Regions from separate parts of the Homo sapiens genome. Here region 2 is linked to region 1. The links are contacts of gene promoters, found by promoter capture Hi-C in human tissues and cell types (Jung and others, 2019). All regions are on one chromosome and are shown on one strand. The core of a region is centred on a gene start or on the middle of the fragment in contact, and the rest is flanking DNA. Distances in the headings are between cores, read along the strand shown.

What was found. The method cuts DNA at HindIII sites, captures the fragments that hold promoters and counts their contacts. A contact is called where the count stands out against the background at its distance.
Region 2: a fragment that was not itself captured here is called in contact with the fragment with the promoter of KCNK13 in region 1 in 1 of the 25 tissues and cell types used here (aorta).

What each region holds. Positions count from the first base shown.
Region 1 is chr14:90,057,255-90,063,595 of GRCh38, reverse strand. It overlaps KCNK13 (potassium two pore domain channel subfamily K member 13), which reads right to left and starts at 1,602. Exons shown (of 2, transcript NM_022054.4): 1 at 1,057-1,602. The coding sequence starts at 1,390. LOC124903406 reads right to left here. Exons shown (of 3, transcript XM_047432048.1): 2 at 2,685-3,194; 3 at 1,863-2,234. The coding sequence ends at 1,970. RefSeq lists enhancers at 1,660-2,159, 2,160-2,661 and a silencer at 2,910-3,299. The HindIII fragment of the contact is 23,188 bases long and covers 1-6,341 here.
Region 2 is chr14:90,005,925-90,013,041 of GRCh38, reverse strand. The region is part of intron 14 of TDP1 (tyrosyl-DNA phosphodiesterase 1); the gene reads right to left. Among named protein-coding and RNA genes, the nearest start is that of KCNK13, 53 kb to the left of the region's middle. RefSeq lists a silencer at 6,211-6,378. The HindIII fragment of the contact is 6,858 bases long and covers 1-6,339 here.

The DNA.
Region 1 (6,341 bases), core at 353-2,852:
CAGCCTTTTTTGCAGCTTGGAGGCCACTTCCTCTCCGTCTAACTCTTCCAACCTCCCTCCCCTGCTCCAGGTCTCTTTTTGCCCCCCTCAGAATTTATTTCTACAGCATCTTCCCTAACCCCCATTAATCACTTGATTATTCTTCAAGGATGAACAATCTTTAGGGGTGTGGCGCAGACTCCCCCAAATCATTTTCCTTCTGCTGGGAAATAAACACAGCTGATTGTAGCTGTGCTACATCTTTGCTAAAAAATTCTCAATGGCTCCCAGGTGCCTCTAGGTAAATTCCAGCTCCTCAGTCTGTCAGTGAAGGTCCTACCCCCGCCTCCATCCCATTAGCCAGCAGACCTTCCTAGTCTTCCTTCCACCACTCCAACCAGCTCATGGGGCCCCTGAGTGCGATTCTCTCCTACTCTAGAGTGCAACCGCGCTTTCAGTTCCCAAACCCAAGTTATGCCTAACACGAATTGATTCAGCCCAAAGGTCACTTCCCTGGTTCTTCCTGGTGGAAAATTTTCCATCTTTTGAACCGTCATTGGCACTTTTGCTTCCTCACTTTCAGTCTGCTGTTCTGATTTTTTCTCGGTAAGTGTGAAGTCGAGGGCAGAATCTTTTAAAATCTGCACTTCCCCTCTGACTGACTCAGTAAATGTTTAGTTTCCTGTCCCTATCTGTAAAAGCCTTCTTCCCCATGAACTCAAGCCGTGTCTCCTTCATTAGACTGAAAATCTCCCAGAGCAGAGCGTCTCCAATTTAAGGATCATTCCAATCCTTTGGGGACTTTGTTAACATGCAGATTCTGACTCGGCAGGTCTGCAGAGGGGACTGAGACTGCATTTCTAACAAGCTGCCAGGTGACGCTGAAGCTGCCGGTGCCTGGACCACATTAGAGCAGCGGGGAGGCAATACCACCTGTTGATCAGGCGACAGCTCATGTCAGTGGAGTCTGGCTGGGCGCCCAGATGGATGAATGAAAGGATGAGAGGGTCGGTCCTGCCCCCCGGAGGAAGTGGAGGCCGCCCGGAGGTTGTCAGCGAGTCCGGCCAGCACACTTACCTATGGTGGAAACGACGGTGCCCACGAAGTAGAAGGCGCCGGTGAAGTCCCAGCGCGGGCGGACGTTGTCCACGCGGATGCCGGCCCGAGTGGCCTCCTCGTAGTGGCGGAGGAAGCCGCGCAGCTCGTCGCGGCTCAGGTTGTGGCCGCGGCTGAAGTTGGCCAGGCGCTCCTCCCAGCGCTGCTTGGCCTGGCGCTCGTGCGCCAGCTCCAGCGCGGAGAAGACGGCGGCGCCGCCCAGCAGGTAGAGCACGATGAGCGCGGCCAGCAGCAGAAAGCGCGCGTTGTCCTCGTTCAGGTGGCCCGGGCCCCAGCTGAAACCCCGGCCAGCCATGGCCGGGCCCCCGGGGGCAGCCCCCAGGCCCACGGCACCGGGCGTCGGCGGAGTCTCGCCCACACCCCCGGGAAATAAGGGCCCCGGCGCTCAGCCAGCTCCCGGGCGCCCCACCGCCGGCTCGCCCATGACCGCCGGGCTCTCCCGCAGGCCGCGAGGCTCCCCCGGCCGCCGCCTCGGTAGCTCCTGTGGCGCCAGCTCCCCACGTCCTCCTTGACTCCTAGTTTCAAATCCGCTTTGTCGCCGCCGTTCCCCTCCACTCCCCCTGCTCTCCTCGGAGTTCTCCTTAACGCTGAAGGTCCCGGGGAACGGGCGCAGAGTTCACGTCTGCTTGGCGCTGGGATGCGGGCGCAGTTTCCACCCCGGCTCCCTGTCCGGCTCAGATAGGGGAGGGGGCGTGGCGCGTCTTCAGGGCAAGCTCGAGCCAACTCGAGTTTCCCGCAAAGAGACGGTCGCGGGGCGGGGCGGGGCGGGGCGGGGCGGCGGGGGGGGGGCGCGGTCCGGAGGTCTGCGGGTAAGCAGAGCGCCGGGGTCCTGGGTCCTGGTTCCTTTGACTATCGCTTCGCAGGCCGCCGACGGCTAGGACACGGGTGTCAGTCTGCTGGCTTTGTAGGTGCCTCCCCAGGTAGATCGACGATGGTGCCTCCTAGTTGTGGTCGTGGTGTCGCGCTGAGCCTGTGGCCTCCCGAGTCTCCGAATCGGCTGCCGGGGCTTAGGGATGGAGGGGGTCCAGGGCGGGCGCACGGAGAGAGGGGCTGTGCTGAGCGGCGTCCGAGGGCTGCGGCGTCCGAGGGCTCCGACCTCCGGCCGGGCCCCAACGCTGCGCATCCGTTGGGCGGACGGGCTGGAGAGAGGAGACCAGAAAGGGAGGTTGGAACAGGGAGCAAAGGAAGTTAGGGGCTTCTCCCCCGGGCAGCCTCCCTCGCCTTGACCATGCCAGAGCGCCCTTGGTCTCTGGATCCTGCGCGGGGGCGTCCTCTGCGCCTACTAGTAGGCTCCGCCCGGACCAAGCGCGCACCGCGAGCCAGCCCCGCTTCCGGAGAGGAGGCCAAACACTGGGGGCTGGAAGGGCTCCGCGGCCAGGAGACCTTGACCTTGGAGCGTTCCATCTCTTCCCCCCGGGCTTGGCTGCCTAGTGCGTTCCAGAGTTTTGCCTGGACGCGGGGTCCGCGCAGAAGGCATCCCCCACCTCATGCAGAACAGTAGCAAGGCTCTCCAGCAAACCGCCGGGGCCCCCTCCCCGAGACCCCGCCTTGTAGCGGGCGCTGGCGCCGCTGCCGCGCTCAGATCTCACCTTCCGGGGAGCGCCCTCTCCGCGCCGCTCCGTCGGGACTGTTCCCGGGCCTCCTGGCAGCCGCGGCCCTGCCCTGCCAGCCGGCGCGCGGAGCACAGGTCCGCACCGCGCTCTGCCTTCTCAGGCGGGCGCGCTCCGACGCTGCAACAGGTAGAGCCGTGCGGCTGCCAGCTGCGGCGACTCCACCCTGTCGCCCGCCTCCTTGCGCGCGGGCCCGCCTCCTGCGCTGGTCTCCGCGGGTAGACGCTCGGCGTTCGAAGGGCCGACCCGGGGCTGCGGTGCTCCCACCAGGGCGCGCAGATCTGGGTAGTGGATGCAGAACCGGCTGGTGGGACGCTCAGCCGGTCCGCGTGGGCCCTCCGGGGCCGGGAGAGGGCGCTCTGCCCCCTCCAGACACATCCCGCCCCCGCCCGCGCACACAGCCCCGCGCGGCCCTCCGGAATCACCCGCCCGGGCGTGTGGGAGCGAATCTGTACGCGGAGAGGAATGGATACGTGGGCATCTTCCCACCTTCCGAGAGAGCGGTTTCAGGCGCAGAGCCCCACACACCGCCCTTACGCACCAGGAGCAGAGACAGAAGGGCTAGGAGCCCTGTTGAGTAAAACCGTGTGATTTCGAATAAAGAAACACAGCTCTGGCGAGTGCATTTTCATCAGAAACCCTGGTGCTGTTAGCAGTCCTCTCGGCTCTGTTACTCACTCCCCAATGCCCCTCTTTCATCTAGCCTTCTGAGGGGCAAGAGCTTTAGGGGCATCGCGAGAATGGGTGCATGTGTATACACCCAGGGTGAGTACTGCAATTACCTTTTAAATCCATTTTATTATGAAAAATTTCAAACATTCTAAAAAGTTGAATTTTACAGTGAACACCCGTATACCCACCACCTAGATTCTACAATTAACATGTTACTATACTTGATTTATTAGATATCTACCCGTCCCTCTGTCCATCCATCAACCCATCTTGTTTGGATGCATTTCAGAGTAAGTTGCAGAGCTTGGTACACTTCCGCCCTCATCCCCAGTACTTCTGCCTGCATATCACTACGTAGGGTTCAATATTTACTTGCAGAATTTTTTTCCTTTTCGGATAAAATTTACATACAATGAAATGCACAAATCTTAAGTGTATCATTAGGTGAGTTCTGACAAATGGGTACACCTCTGCAAATCACCTATCCAACCTACCAGCCAAACATCACCAACAGGGTCCCCCTAAGTCCCTTCCCTGTAACTCCCTACCCACATTCCTCCAGAGAAAACCACTGTTCAGAATTTTTCTACCATCGATTACTTTCGCTTTTATAGAACTGTTTTTTTGTTCTAAATCTCCATATAAATGGAATCATGCCGGTATGTACTCTTTGGTGGAAAACATTATGTTTTTGAGATTTACCCATGTTATATGTCTTAGTAATTCCTTCCTCTTTATTGCTAGTTTTTCATTGTTTGGGTATACCATAGTTTGTTTATTCATTCTCCTCCTATTGATAGAAAGGAGAACTGTTAGAAAATTTTGGTCATCATAAATAAAACTGTTAGGAACATTCTTGTACAACTATGTAGACATATGTTTTCATATCTCTTACGTAAAGACCTAGGAGCGGAATTGCTGGGTCATAGGGTAGGTATGTATTTTGCTTTATGAGAAACTGCCCGACATTTTCCCAAAGCAGCTGTACTGACAGTGTACACTAGTTCTGGATGCTCCGTATCTTTGTCAACATTTGGCAGTATCAGTCATTTTAATTTTAAAACTACTGGTGGATGTAGCAATATCTCACTGTGGTTTTAATTTGCATTTCCCTGATGTCTAAAAATACTGGTGGATGTAGCGATATCTCACTGTGGTTTTAATTTGCATTTCCCTGATGTCTAATGCGCTTGCTGGCCACTTGTGTACCTTCTCTTGTGAATTTTCTGTTGAAATATTTTGCCCACTTAAAAAATTAGTTTCTCTGTTACTGAATTATAGAGATCCTTTATATATGCAGGATACGAGTACTTTCTCAGATACATATCTTGCAAATATTTTCTAACTCTGATTTGCCTATTTATTTTCTTAAATATGTTTTCTGTATGTTTGGTGCCCTTTGAGAAATCATTACCTCCTTCAAGGTTGCATAGGTTTTCTGTCTCCCCACACTTTTATATTTGGGTCTACGATCCATTTAAGTTTGTTTCCTTATGGTATGAGGTAAGAGTCAAAGGTCATTTTGTCCAGGTGGATTTCCAGTTATTCCAATGCTATTTGTTGAAAAGATAAATATGCCTGAGTTTCAGGAATTTAATTTGTTCATTATTTGCCCACCCTTATGCTAATACCACAGGATTTACATACTTATAGCTCTATAGTAGGTCTTTAGTGGGACTATAATTGAGTCCTCTAACTTTGTTCTTCTTTTTCAAGATTCTTTGGATGTTATAAAACTTTTACACTTCCACTAAAAAATCATAGAATCAGCTTAATTTCCTCCAAAAAGCTGTGGGATCTTGATTTCTGGGATTGTGTTGGATCTATTTTGGGAAGAACATCTTGACAATTCATGAAAGAGGTATATTCCTCTATTTATTTAGGGTTTCTTAACCAAGTTTTCATATGGAGATTTTGCACATCTCTTGTAAATTCATTCTAAAGTATTTTATATTCTTTTGATGTTATTGTAAATGGAATTTCAAAATTTTACTTTTCAATTGTTTGCTGTAGTCCATAAAAATACACGATTGTTGCAAAAATACTTGAATTCTTCAACCTTGCTACTTTAGTCATCAGTTGTACATGTTTTGTTGATTCCTTTAGGAGTTTCTTTGTAAATAATCATGTCATCTACAAGTTTTGCTTTTTTCTTCCTGATCTTTATCATCTTTTCCCCCTCTTGTCTGCAACGGCTAGAGCCTCAGTACATTATTCAATAGAAGTGGAAGCAGATATCCTTGTCTTATGATCTTAGGAGAAAACTTTCCTTTTATCATCATTTATATAATGTTAGCTGTGGGGTTTTCATAGAAACTATCGGATTAAGGAAGTTTCCTTTTATTGTTGTTTCTAGTTTTCTGGTGTTTTTGGTTTTTTGTTTTTTTTTTTTTTTTTTTTTTTTGAGACGGAGTCTCGCTCTGTCGCCCAGGCCGGAGTGCAGTGGCGCGATCTCGGCTCACCGCAAGCTCCGCCTCCCGGGTTCACGCCATTCTCCTGCCTCAGCCTCCCAAGTAGCTGGGACTACAGGCGCCCGCCACCATGCCCAGCTAATTTTTTGTTTTTTAGTAGAGACGGGGTTTCACCGTGTCAGCCAGGATGGTCTCGATCTCCTGACCTCGTGGTCCACCCGCCTCGGCGTCCCAAAGTGCTGGGATTACAGGCGTGAGCCACCGCGCCTGGCCGAGTTTTTTGTTTTTAATGAAGCATGAATGAGTACTGAATTTTGTTAAATGCCATATCTGCATCTATGGTGATGATCATATAGTTTTCTCCTTTATTCTGCTAATATGTTGTATTTCACTGATTGCCTTTCTAATGTTAAGCCAATCTTGCATTTCTGGGATATGTTGCACTTGGGGTTTCCACTCTATTCTTTTTATTCCTCTACTTCTGAGTTTACTCTTCTTTTTCTAGCTTCTTATGGTGGATGTTTAGATCACCGATTTTAGACCTTTCTTCTTT
Region 2 (7,117 bases), core at 1,661-4,160, 52 kb after region 1:
CATTCTAAATGGGAGAAATTGGCCAAAACAAAGGGGCTACAGGCCCCATGCAAGTCCAAAATCTGTCAGGGCAGTCAAATCTTAAAGCTCCGAAATGATCTCCTTTGACTCCATGTCTCACATCCAGGTCACGCTGATCCAAGAGGTAGGCTTCCATGACCTTGGACAGGCTCTGCCCCTGTAGCTTTGCAGGGCATAGCCCCCCTTCTTGGCTGCTTTCAGGGGCCGGCATTGAGTGTCTGCAGCTTTTCCAGGCCCACCATGCAAGCTGTCAGTGGATCTACCATTTTGGGGTCTGGAGGATGGTGGCCCTCTTCTCACAGCTCCACTAGGCAGTGCCCCAGTAGGGACTCTGTGTGGGGGTTCCTACCCCATATTTCTCTTCTGCACTGCCCTAGCAGAGGTTCTCCATGAGGGCTCCACCCCTGCAGCACACCTCTGAAGCAATGGCCTTGCGGGTACACAGAAGTTAAGAATTGAGGTTTGGGAAACTCTACCTACATTTCAGAGGATGTATAGAAACGCCTGGATGTCCAGGCAAAAGTTTGCTCCAGGGACGAGGCCCTCATGGAGAACCTTTGCTATGGCAGTGTGGAAGGGAATTATGGGGTCGGAGGCCCCACACAGAGTCCCCACTAGGGCACTGCCTACTGGAGCTGTGAGAAGGGCCAGAATCCTTCAAGATTGCAGAATTGTAGATTCACTGACAGCTTGCACCATGTGCCTGGAAAAGCCATAAACACTTAATGACATGAGGCTCCATCCCTGCAGCAAACTTTTGCCTGGACATCCAGGCTTTTCCATACATCCTTTGAAATGTAAGTAGAGGTTCCCAAACCTCAATTCTTAACTTATGTGTACCTACAGGCCCAACACAATGTGTAAGCCACCAAGGCTTGGGGCTTGCACCCTCTGAAGCAATGGCCTGAGCTGTATGTTGGCACCTTTTAGCCATGCCTGGGATGCAGGGCACCAAGTCCCAAGACTGCACAAAGCGGCAAGGGCCTGGGCCTGGCCCACAAAGCCATTTCCTCCTAGGCTTCCAGGCATGTGATGGGAGGGTCTGCCGTGAAGACTTCTGACATGCCCTGCAGACATTTTCCCCATTGTCTTGGCAATTAACATTTGGCTCCTCATTACTTATGCAAATTTCTGTAGTCCTCAGAACATGGGTTTTTCTTTTCTATTGCATTGTCAGGTTGCAGATTTTCCAACTTTTATGCTCTGCTTCCCTTTTAAACATAAGTTCCAACTCCAAAGAGTATCTCTATGAATGAATAAAACTGTATGCCTTTAAGAGCACCCAAAATCACCTCAAACACTTTGCTGCTTAGAAATTTCTTCTGCCAGATACCCTATATTATCTTTCTCAAGTTTAAAGTTCCACAGATCTCTATGGCAGGGGCAAAATGCCACCAGTCTCCTTGATAAAACATAGGAAGAGTCCCCTATGCCCCAGTTCCCAACAAGTTTCTCATCTCCATCTGGGAACATGTTAGCCTAGACTTCATTGTCCATATCACTGTCAGCATTTTGGTCAAAGCCATTCAACAAGTTTTTAGGAAGTTCCAAACTTTCCCACATCTTCCTGTCTTCTGAGCCCTCCAAGTCTCTAGGAAGTTCCCACTTTCCCACATTTTCCTGTCTTCTTCTGAGCCCTCCAAACTGTTCCAACCTCTGCCTGTTACCCAGTTCCAAAGTCACTTCCACATTTTTGGGTATCCTTATAACAGCACCCCACTCTACCGGTAGCAATTTACTATAACAGTCTGTTCTCTCACTGCTAATAAAGACATACCCAAGACTGGGTAATTTATAAAGGAAAGGAGGTTTAATGGACTCACAGTTCCACATGGCTGGGGATGCTTCACAATCATGGCAGCAGGCGAAGGAGGAGCAAAGGCATGCCTTACATGGTGGCAGGCAGGAGTGTGTGTGCAGAGAAACTGCTCTTTATAAAAACCATCAGATCTCATGAGACATATTCACTATCATGAGAACAGCACAGGAAAACCCACCCCCATGACTGAATTACCTCCCACCAGGTCCCTTCCACAACATGTGGGGATTATGGGTGCTACAATTCAAGATGAGATTTGGGTGGGGATACAGCCAGCCCATATCACTACTGAACGCTGATGTTTACCTCCGTGAAGTATCAATTTTTAAACTATGATACTGTTTTTTTCTCTTGATATGCAGTGCCCATTAGTTTCCTGCTGCTGCTCTAACAAAATGCCACAAATTTAATGACTTAAAACAAAGATTCATTATCTTACACAAAGTAAAGTAAAATTAAAGTTTTAGGAGGATTGTGTTTCTTCCAGAGGCCCTCAGGAAGAATTCATTTCCTTGCCTTTTCTAGTTCTAGAGGCTGTCTGCATTCCCCTTGGAATGTCTCTGTTCCTTCATCTTCAAGGCCAGTGAGGTTAGCTGAGTCCTTTTTCATGCAGTGCTCTCTCTCTCGACTTGTCCCTCTTCCACTTTTAAGTATCTTTGTGATTATACTGGGCCCTCCCCCAATAACCACCCCATTTTAAGGTCAGTTGATTAGCAAACCTAATCCCACCTGCTGCCTTAATTCCCCTTTGCCAGATAATTTAACAGTCACAGCCCCTGAGGATTTTACACAAAGACATCTTTGGGTGGCCATTATTCTGCCCACCACACAGTGCTTTTCATATATTACAATTATGTTGCAAATGTTTGCCCAGTTATAACTTTGTTTATGAAAACCTTTATAGTTCAGAAGGTAATTTTTGCTTGTTTTCTTCCATTTTGGGGCGAGGAAGGAAGTTATCCAAGGTGCAGTTTTTGACTTTATAGCTTCTGGGTGTGAGGTCTTACTCAGAAAAACCTTTTCATCCATCCCAAAATGGTGTCTTTTGACAAAATAAAGTTTTAAAATATTCTGAAGTCCAAACATGTGTAAATCTTTTCTTGCAAGTGCATTTTATGTCTTATGTACTAAATCTTGCCTACTTCAAGGTTGTAGGGTATTCTTGTTCTAGGCTTTATAGCTTTAGCGTTCTCACTTAGGCATATGATACATCTGAAGTTAATTTTGTCTATGTCCTAAGATAGGCTAAGGTTTTTTTTTCCTGCATCAATATCCAATTGCTTTAGCAATATTTATTGAAAAGAACATCCTTCATCCACTGAATTACATTGGTGCCTTTGTCAAAAATGGTTGATGATATATGTGTCTATTTCTGGACTCTGTTCTGTTCTGTTCATCAATTTATCTATTGTTATGCTGATATCACAGTCTTACCCTGCTTTTATAGTGAATCTTGAAATCATGTTTAAACTCCTTGGGGTTTTACAAATGCACAGTCATATCTTCTGCAAATATAGTTTTACTTCTTCCTTAATAATCTTTATGTCTTTTATTTTTTTGCCTTATTGCACTGGCTATAACTTCCAGTACAATACTGCAGAGAACCACACTTACCCTTCAATCTATTATGTGCTTTCAATAAGACTTTTCCCCAAACCACTATCCTGAAACCACTTAAAGTCACTCCACACTGCCATATCCAATGGAAACTTCTTTACTCTCATCTTAATCTCTCTGTAGCATGAGACTTCTACCATCAGTGCCTCTTATCCCCTGGCATAATTGAAACATTACTGTAATTATTCTTCCTTGTTTTCTGCTACACTTTGTGGCTTCCTTTCTGCTTTCAACCTCTCTGGTCACTCCTTTTCTTCCACCTGATCTCTCAAATATTGGAATGCTAGGTATCTGCCCCTACCTTATGTCAAGATATTAACATAGACATTGGTTCCAGGTTCTTGAAGAGACCAGCAGCAACAAAATCTATCTGGAGGTACAGAGGTTTGTCCACTCAAGTCACAGATAATTTTTATAGTTAAAGCTTCAGTGAAGACACAAATTTTAAAATAAAAGGGAAAATAATCCAAATCCATCATGAGCAAGACAACAGAAAATATAATTAGACCTCCAGGAACTTCAGATGATTGACCAATTAGATGTCGAGTTAAAAATAAGTATACTTAAAATGATTTGAGCTGGACATGGTAGCTCATGCCTGTAATCCTAGTGCTTTGGGAAGCCAAGACAGAAGGATCACTTGAGGCCAGAGGCTTGAGACCAGCCAGGGCAACAAAGCAAGATCCCATATCAAAATAAAATGCAAAAATTAGCCAGGCAGGGTGGTGTGCACCTGCAGTCCCAGCTACTTGTGAGACTGAGATGGGAGAATTGCTTGAGCCCAGGAGCTATGATCACGTGCCACTGCACTCCAGCCTGGGTGACACAGCAAGACACCATCTCAAAAAACAAAACAAAAATAAACAAAAGATTTCAAAGTAAACAACATACAAAAGAAATAATGAAACAAGCATAAAACAAATTTGCTAATAATGGCAGCTAATATGCAGCATCTATTAACTGCCAAATGTTGTTTTAATACCTTTATATATTCTATTTATTTTCATTCTTAACTATTAGATACCTATTCTATTACTATACTTACTTAACAGATGAGAAAATGGAAGTCATTTGCCCAAGATTTCAACAGGTACTAGGTGGTAGAGTAAGAATTCGAACTCAGGCAGCGTGACTCTGGGCTGAACTCTAAACCATGAAACATATGGTATCCAAGAAGGTCCAAAAGTAAAATACAGTCACTAGAATTAAAAACTCTACTGATGAATTAAATACCATGAGTCACAGCTGAAAACAAAACTAATGAAACAGAAGAAAGATCTAAAGAAATTAGGTAGAATGCAACTCAGAGGCAAAGAGGTGCAAAGTAAGAAACTGAAGATAGAATGAGAGGGTCCGACAAGCATCTCATAAGAGTTGCAAGAAGGAAGTGAGAGAGGGTGAGTCAATATGCTTAATGATAATAGCCAATAATTTTACCGAACTGTTGAAAAATCAGTTCTTTAGAGTGAAGAAATACAACAAACCCTGCTGAGACTAAATAAAAATAAATCCATACCTATTTATCCATCGTAGCTAAACTGAAGAATACCAAATATAAAGAAAATCTTAAAAACAGCCAGAGATGAGACAGCTTTTCCACAAGGAGCAACAATTAGATGGCAACTTCTCAATACCAACAACTGAGCTCAAAAGCCAATGGAAAAAAATATTTAAGGAACTTAGAGGAAGACCAGGCATGGTGGTTCACGCCTGTAATCCCAGTATTTTGGGAGGCTGAGGTGGAAGGATTGCTTGAACTCAGGAGTGTGAGAACAGCAACATAGTGAGACCCCATCTCTAAAAAAAAATAAAAAATTAGCCAGGTGTGGTGGTGCATACCTGTCCCAGCTACTTGGGAGGCTGAGGTGGAAGGATGACTTGAGCCCGAGAAGTGGAGGTTACAGTGAACCAAGCCTGGGTGGCAGAGCAAAACTCTGCCTTAAAAGGAAAAAAAAAAATCTTAGTTGGCAGTTACTTTGTCCCAGTTTCCCGCCCCGAGACAGGGTCTTGCTCTATTACCCAGGTTGGAGTGCAGTGGAGCGATCTCAGCTCACTGCCACCTCTGCTTCCTGGGTTCAAGCGATTTTCATGCCTCAGCCACCTGAGTAGCTGGGATTACAGGTGTGAGCTACCATGCCCAGCTAATTTTTATATTTTTAGTAGAGACAGGGTTTCACCATGTTGCCCAGGCTGGTCTTGAACTCCTGGTCTCAACTGATCCACCGGCCTTGGCTTCCTAAAGTGCTGGGATTACAGGTATGGGCAGTGTGAGCCACCGCGTCCGGCCAAAGAATTTTAAATTCAGTTAAATTATCACTCAAAAATGAGGGCAAAAATAAAGGGAGTTTTAGAAAAACAAATAAGAGCTTATTGCCAGTAAGAAGGCATCAGTGAAATAACTATAAAAGATACAGTTCAGGAATAAAACTGAATTTGTTTGAAAGGACAGGGCTACCGGGAAGAAAAAGAACAAAGAAATGAGTAAACTTATGGGTAACTGTAAACAAGAAGTGACTGTAAAGTAATAATGACAATGACTAATTTTGAAAGCCAAAAAAGGGTGGAATGAAAATATTGGTGAATAATAAAGAGGAAGAGGAGCTGGTCATGGTGGCTCACACCTGTAATCCCAGCACTTTGGGAGGCCAAGGCAGATAGAGAGTTTTGAGCTCAGGAGTTCAACAGCAACCTGAGCAACATTTCAAAACTCCATCTCTATGAAAAATACAAAAATTAGCCAGGCATGGGCTGGGCATGGTGCCTCACGCCTGTAATCCCAGCACTTTGGGAGGCTGAGGTGGGCGGATCACCTGAGGTCAGGAGTTCGAGACCAGCCTGGCCAACATGGTGAAACCCCATCTCTACTAAAAACACAAAAAAATTAGCCAGGCTTGGTCGCGGGCACCTGTAATCCCAGCTACTTGGGAGGCTGAGGCAGGAGAATCGCTTGAACCCAGGAGGTGGAGGTTGCAGTGAGCTGAGATCATGCCATTGGACTCCAGCCTGGGTGACAGAGCAAGACTCTGTCTCAAAAAAAATTAGCTAGGCATGGTGGCATACACCTGTAGTCCCAGCTACTTGGGGAGGCTGAGAAGGGAGGATCACCTGAGCCTGGGAGGTCAAGGATGCAGTGAGCAGTGAGCATGCCATTGCACTCCAGCCTGAGTGACAGCGTGAAATCCTATCTCAAAATTCTGCAGATGTTGAAGAATCTTGGGAGATTAACTACTAAGAGGATGCAACACATCAGCTGTGTTTCCAGGGTGGCTATCAGGTCTTACAGATACAGTGTATTAACAAAGAAAAGCCAGCAAGAAAAGAAAAATGAAAATGATTATGATGCATGTTTTCAAGCAGATAAGAGCAAAACACTAAAGAAGATTAGACACTTGGGTGTGGGGTTTTGCAAGTGTAAAGTCTGACAAACCACCAAATAGATTTGGACAAATCTACTTGCAACCTCACTTTGTTCCTCAGTCACAGGCCTATCATGACCCTCCCCCGACAAGCAGTCTTTCATAGCCATGTTGGACTCTAAATGGAGGCCTTGGTGCCCGATGGCATAGTCCAGCCTACCTGTTGACCTAGTCTTTAAAAGGATCCATCTATTCTTGATCCCACAGATGGAATTACAAGGACTTTAGAAGTCATCACATCAAT